Linked DNA regions of Homo sapiens: region 1 is linked to region 2. The links are contacts of gene promoters, found by promoter capture Hi-C in blood cells and fetal thymus (Javierre and others, 2016). All regions are on one chromosome and are shown on one strand. Each heading gives the region's core, a stretch centred on a gene start or on the middle of the fragment in contact. The rest is flanking DNA. Distances are from core to core; before and after follow the strand shown. Region 1 holds the start of TPPP3 (tubulin polymerization promoting protein family member 3). Region 2 overlaps CES3 (carboxylesterase 3).

The links. Contacts are between HindIII fragments. The CHiCAGO score rates a contact against its expected background, and 5 or more counts as called.
Region 1: the fragment with the promoter of TPPP3 here is called in contact with a fragment that was not itself captured in region 2 in 3 of 17 cell types (naive B cells, total CD8 T cells and M1 macrophages); the score reaches 5.8 in naive B cells.

The regions. Positions count from the first base shown.
Region 1 is chr16:67,392,104-67,394,936 of GRCh38, reverse strand. It overlaps TPPP3 (tubulin polymerization promoting protein family member 3), which reads left to right and starts at 1,439. Exons shown (of 4, transcript NM_015964.4): 1 at 1,439-1,557. It overlaps ZDHHC1 (zDHHC palmitoyltransferase 1), which reads left to right. Exons shown (of 12, transcript NM_001323627.2): 12 at 44-785. The coding sequence ends at 327. The HindIII fragment of the contact is 5,780 bases long and covers 1-2,833 here.
Region 2 is chr16:66,963,300-66,966,263 of GRCh38, reverse strand. It overlaps CES3 (carboxylesterase 3), which reads right to left. Exons shown (of 13, transcript NM_024922.6): 2 at 2,881-2,964; 3 at 2,635-2,773; 4 at 2,329-2,462; 5 at 1,754-1,907; 6 at 1,537-1,641; 7 at 1-20. Among named protein-coding and RNA genes, the nearest start is that of CES3, 3.5 kb to the right of the region's middle. RefSeq lists an enhancer at 1,609-2,526. The HindIII fragment of the contact is 7,346 bases long and covers 1-2,964 here.

The DNA of each region.
Region 1 (2,833 bases), core at 190-2,689, 430 kb before region 2:
GCGAGCCGCAGCCACTGGGCTCATGTTCCCTTCCCTTGCGCAGGGCCTAGGGCCCCCAGCCGCCGCTCCAGCTCGTCGACGGATTCCGCGGACGCCAGCCCTGTGCACGCCGCTGGCCCTGCCGGCGCCTACCACTCGGCGTCGGCAGAGTCCGTGGACGAGATTCCAGTGGCGCAGACGCGCCTGGGCAGCGCCGCTCTGGCCGCCCCGCGGGGCCGGGGCCGACAGCCCACGCTGGCGCGGCAGGCGCGTGCGCCCGCCGTTTTCGTGAGCCCGAGCAGCGGCGAGCCCAGGGCGCCGGGCGGCCGGGAGGCTGGTCTGGCTTAGCTGGGCCGAGAGGCCGGAGGGCCGAGTTAGAGCGGCCGGCCTGACTCTCTATGCAACACCCCATCCTTGCCGCACCGAGTGCACTTTAGGGGCCCCTACGGCCGGCGGGATCGGCCTCCCTCCCCCACGACTCAGCAATACCCGCCCCACCGGCTGTGATGCTCCAATAAACTTTTTTATGCTTTTGCGGACGTCGCGCTTACTTTCTTAATGGCAGGGGCCACGGGCCATCCAGAAGCCCGACCCTGGCCAGTGGACCGGGGGCGGGGAGGAGGTCCCTGTATAGTAGGTAGCCACCCAGGCTGCCCTGTGGAGGTGCTCACGTGCGGCTCGTGGTTAGGAAAGGCCTTAGAAGGCGGCCTGGAGGAGGTTATTTTTCTTAAAGATGGGCTTTGCACTGGGAGGCCGAGAGAAAGCAGGCTTTGGGCTCCGAAAGCAGCAGTGGGCGCTGAGGCTGCGAGGCCGTGGGGAGGTGGCGGCGAAAGGAGGGGGCCGAGCCAGGAGGTCCCGCAGCTTTTCCCCGGCAGCAGGGCTGCCGTCGAATGCCAGCATCCTGGGGCTGGGCGAGCGCGATTCGCTCGTAGGGAGTCCCCTCCCTTCTTCCCCACTGCTCCAGGCTCTGAATCCTACCCAAGAGAGCACGGGAGTTGTGGCCTGGGGGTGCCATCCGTTCAGTGGATGGCAGTGCTCTTGAGTCAACCGTATACCCCTGTCACTGAGGGAGAGCTCCTTCCCGATTCCCCAAGCCCCACCAATGCCCCGCGCAGCTCCCCAGTGGCCTCTGGTTGACTCTCTGGGGAGCTGGATCTCTTCTGGAGATTGGGGCCGCTTAGAGCTTTAGGCACATCCCAGGATGGGAGGCTGTTTCCTCAGGGGGCCGTCCGAAGACGCCCCGAACTGCAGAGCGCTGGTCTCGCCGTCGCGAGGACCGCGGAGTTGCGGGGGAGGGGCGGGATGCGGCTCCCGGAGAGTCTCGGGGAGGGCGGGGCCTCGTGGGCGGGGCCGGCGTGACCTTGGTCACTCTCCCGCCGAGACAGCCTCGGGGGTGGGACTCGCCGTCTCTATGGAGACCGAGAAACAGGGGATAATACGGCGGAGCCGCCTGGGCTGCAGTCCCACCCGGGAGCCGGCAGGGAGCGGAGCTGCGGAGCCGCCTGGTCTCCCGCGTCCATCGGTCCATTCCTGCGTCGTTCTGTCCTTCCGAACGCACACTTCAGGAGCAGCCGCGAGGTAGAAGCCCATAGGAGACCCAGATGCCCGCCACCCCAATCAGTATCCTGCACGATGAGGGTTGGGGGGAGCAGCCTGGAAAGGGTCCCAACCTCCGGCGGTCCCAGCCGAGGAGCCAGCTGAGCGGCCCTGCCCTGGCCCCAAGCATTCCACCTCGCAGCCCCCACCTCCTGGTCCGGCTGATTGATGACTCCAGCTGTCCCAGTGGGAGCGGGACGGGTGGCTCCAGTTCACGGGTGTGGCCACTCCATCCATGGCCTGCAGACCCATGGGGCTGCGGCCTGCAACCCAGCGCCACCTGACCGCGCTGAGATGACCAAGAATCCATCTTTCCACGGACAGGAGTGAGCACTGCACGCAGGATCCGCCCAGTGCTTGGGCCAAGCACCCTGTGGCATCCAAGCTCCCCTGGACGTTACCCTTGGTGAACCAAGTGCGGGTCTTGGGGTCCCTGGTGGGAGGTTGCACCCAGGGAAAGGGAAGGGGAGTGCAGCGTGGACTGGGGTTATGGTCCCTGTAACGTAGGAACCACCGGTGCTCACAGTCCCAGAAACTGCCACTTAGGGATGGGAGTGTGGTCACTGGCGAGGAGTTTTTGGTGGAAGATGGGGCAGCCGGGCAGAGCCCAGGCCGTGGTCACTGGAAGCCCTAGTGTAAAAGGCAGAGCTAGAAGATGGTTGCTGAGACCGAGGGTGTGGTCAGGAGGTGGCAGTGGAGGAGGGGGATGTGGTGGGGAGGTCTCTACGCAGGGGATCTCCGCATAGTACCTGGGAGTCTTATAATGTTAGTGTGTGGATGTGGACTGGGGCCTTCAGTGCAGGCTGAGGGTGTGGCCAGAGGGCTGAGGGTGTGTGGACAAAGGGGTGCTGAGGGTCAGGGCGCCTTGATAAAGGGCTGCGGGTATTGGAGGGGGTGAGTGGCTGAGGCTATGGTCAGGGGTCTCAGGAAGGGATGCAGGTTTGTGGCCAGGGGCCTCAGCCCCAGGGCTGCGGGTGTGGGGATGGAGAAGGCTGCTGTGTAGGCTCAGGGTGTGGCCAGGGGTCTGCAGCGGAGGGCTGTGGGTGTGGGGGGCACTTTAGTGCTGGACTGTGGGTATTACTGGGGTTGGCGCAGGCTTGTTAGTATATATGTGGGGGCTGGTGGCCGAGGGCTGTGGCTGTGGGTGTGAAGATGGAGGATGGAGGGCTGAAGGTATGGCCAGGGGTACAAGGCCCAGGGGGTGGCAGGCCAGGGCTGAGTGCACAGGGTCGCTGGGAATGTGGGCTGGTGTGGCCAA
Region 2 (2,964 bases), core at 62-2,561:
GCCAAGGTGTTTGCGATTTTCTGGGGACAAATGAAAGAGTCATGCCTCCCTCTCAGCCACTCAGCCCCACCTTGCAGCCTTCTGCCTCCCACAGAGAGGGTGCATCTGTAGGACAGCTGGATGTGATGTCACAGATCGGCCTCGAGACTGGTCACAGACTTGTCACCACTCCTGAGAAGCCTGCCCTGCCCGTCAGCTTGGGTGGTCCCAAGGGCCCCCTTGCGTCCCCTATTATACCATAATTTTATTATCTGGGGGAATGGGGGCACTGAGTCCTCATTGCCCTCTAAGAATAGTGTCATTATCTTTTATTATTATTTTTTTGAGACAGACTCTCGCTCTGTCGCCCAGGCTGGAGTGCAGTGGCATGATCTTGGCTCACCGCAAGCTCTGCGTCCCGGGTTCACACCATTCTTCTGCCTCAGCCTCCTGAGTAGCTGGGACTACAGGCACCTGCCACCATGCCCGGCTAATTTTTTGTATTTTTAGTAGAGATGGGGTTTCACCATGTTAGCCAGGATCACCTTGATCTCCTGACTTTGTGATCCGCCAACCTCAGCCTTGAGCTGTGTTTTTCTTTGGACACAGGAGAGACAGGGAATGACCTCAAGTCTGTGGTTGAGAAAATCTCTCCTGGCCATGGGGAGAGGATGGGATGGGGAGGTTGAGAGGAGGATGCTGTTGTCCATACAAGAGTCAACATGCCCACGCAGAGGTTCCAGAATCATCTTGTACACAGTGGTTAAAATGCCCAGCCCACACTGCCTTGGCCACCATCTGGGGCCAGGTGAGGGAATTGACCCAGTCTTCCAAATCCTGCTCACATTTGCCCCCTCTCTCCCCGATGGCTCTATCCCTATTCCATCCTGTCTCTTTCTCCTGGACTCTGCCCTGGTCATTTCACTGGTGTCTTGATCTTCAGGACGGCTCCCTCCAACCCACCTTCTACTCCAGGTAGCTCAACCTTGTCATTGCCCAACTTCTTCCTGCCCTCTGGAGAAAGTCCAGATTCCCAGGCATGGCCCCCACTTCTCCAGCACCTTCACTTCCTGCCCTGTTCCCTAACCTGCGAGCTTGCTCCTGCAGGACCTGTCACTCTCTCCCACACCTGCAGCCTTTGCAGATGCAGTTCCCACTGTGGCTTCCCCTGGATTTTCTTCACAAGGCCTTACAATGAGGATCTAGGGTGGGGATCTGGAGCCTGAATGGAGAGCTCGCAGGCAGCAGGTGGCTGGCAATGGAGACCCCCTCCACCATGCTGCCTGGGGCAGAGAGGGGTGCTCCTGAAGACCCCACCCTGGAGAAAGGGCCAACAATGATATGCTTCAGGGTGGCTTCCTTCAGGAAGCCCTCCCTGAGTGCCAATATGCTGGAATGCAGCAGTTGTTTCCTCTGATGCTCCTTCGTCTTATTGGGCTTCTCTTTGCTAACAGGGAGCTCCCTGCCAGCAAACCCCGCTACTCTGAGACCCCAGGGCCAGCACAGAGTGGGGTATGGGAGGCACACATAGAGTAAGAGAGGGAAGGAAATACAGACCTGAGCTAGGGGCCAAGGGTGAGAGTCGATGATCCCTGGGGTGGTGATGACCCCACTCTGTGTGATGGCTCTGTGGAACAGCCCTGCAGCCACTGGGGACAGGACCTGGGTGCATTGGAGAGAGGAGGTGGCTGTCAGAGGAGGGCAGAGGAGCTGGGAGTTCTGAGACCACCGGAGCCCTCCTGGCCACCATCACTAGCCCCCTATAGTGACTTACCAGGCCAGAGATGATGCTCCCACCGGCAGATCCACCAAAGACAGTGACACAGTTGAGGTCACCCCCGAAGGGGGCGATGTTTTCTTGCACCCAGCGCAAAGCAGCTACCACATCTAGGAAGCCCTGGTTGCCAGGTGCATGCTCATCTCCAGTGCTGGGGGCAGTGTTGGGGCAACGGTTAGTTCAGCCTGGCTCCTCGCCAGCCTCTGCAGGTTTGCTTTGAATTAGCCACCAGGATGCCAGACCCTTCTCTGCTCCCCAGGTCTGGCCTGTCTGGGAGCCGTGGTTGGCATCTCCACAGCCTGTTGCTCTTTGTCCCATATCCTGCTGGAACCTGGGCTTCAGCCCAGGAATCAATGCCCTCTGCCCAAGGGACCAAGTTCACTGTATAATTCTGGCTTTGGCTGGACCCCTCTCCCAGGGTGGAGGCTTGGGGGGTGCCCTTCTCTGCCTCAGACATCATGGGTAAGGGGCCCTCCCTTCAGGTTCCGGACCCCAACCTAGATCCCCAGTTGCTCTGGTGAGCTGGCCTCTCCCCGGTGCAGGCAGTGCTCTGGCCATGCCTGTCGTCTCACCTGAAGAAGCCAAGGACCCCAAGGCGGTACTGGACTGTAACCACGACCACATCCCCATAGGCAGCCAGAGCTGATCCATCGTAGGAGGTGGCAGCGCCAGTTATCAGAGCGCCTCCATGGACCCATACCATGACCTGCAGAGGTGGCCATGGGGCACTGACCCCCAAGCTCCTGAGACCTTAGCTGCCCACCTGCCAGCCCAGGCAGTCTCAGGACCGCTAGGGTGCTTTGGAAACAGGGACGGGGAGGGGACAGGTAGGCATAGTGGAGCTGGATCAGGTGGACAGGGCCCTCTGGGGTGCCTACCGGCCTACCGGACCCTGCGGGGACCTCAGCTGGGCTATAGACGTTGAGGACCAGGCAGTCCTCTGAAACGGAGAAGATCTGCTGTTTTCCGTTGAGGACAAATCTGCTGCTGTTCATGCTCTCCACGTCTTGTAGGCACCTGTGGCCAAGGGTGGGCCTGAGGTCCAGCTGTTCAGCCCCACAAGCCCCAGCAGCAGGATTCTCCTGCAACCTGCCTGTTTGCCCGCCTCCACCAGCACTACTCACATTGGGGGCGCAGTGCTGGCATCCCGCACACCCTCCCAGGGCTGTGCTGGGTGTGGGGCTGAGAACCGGTCAGGGCCCAGTGGC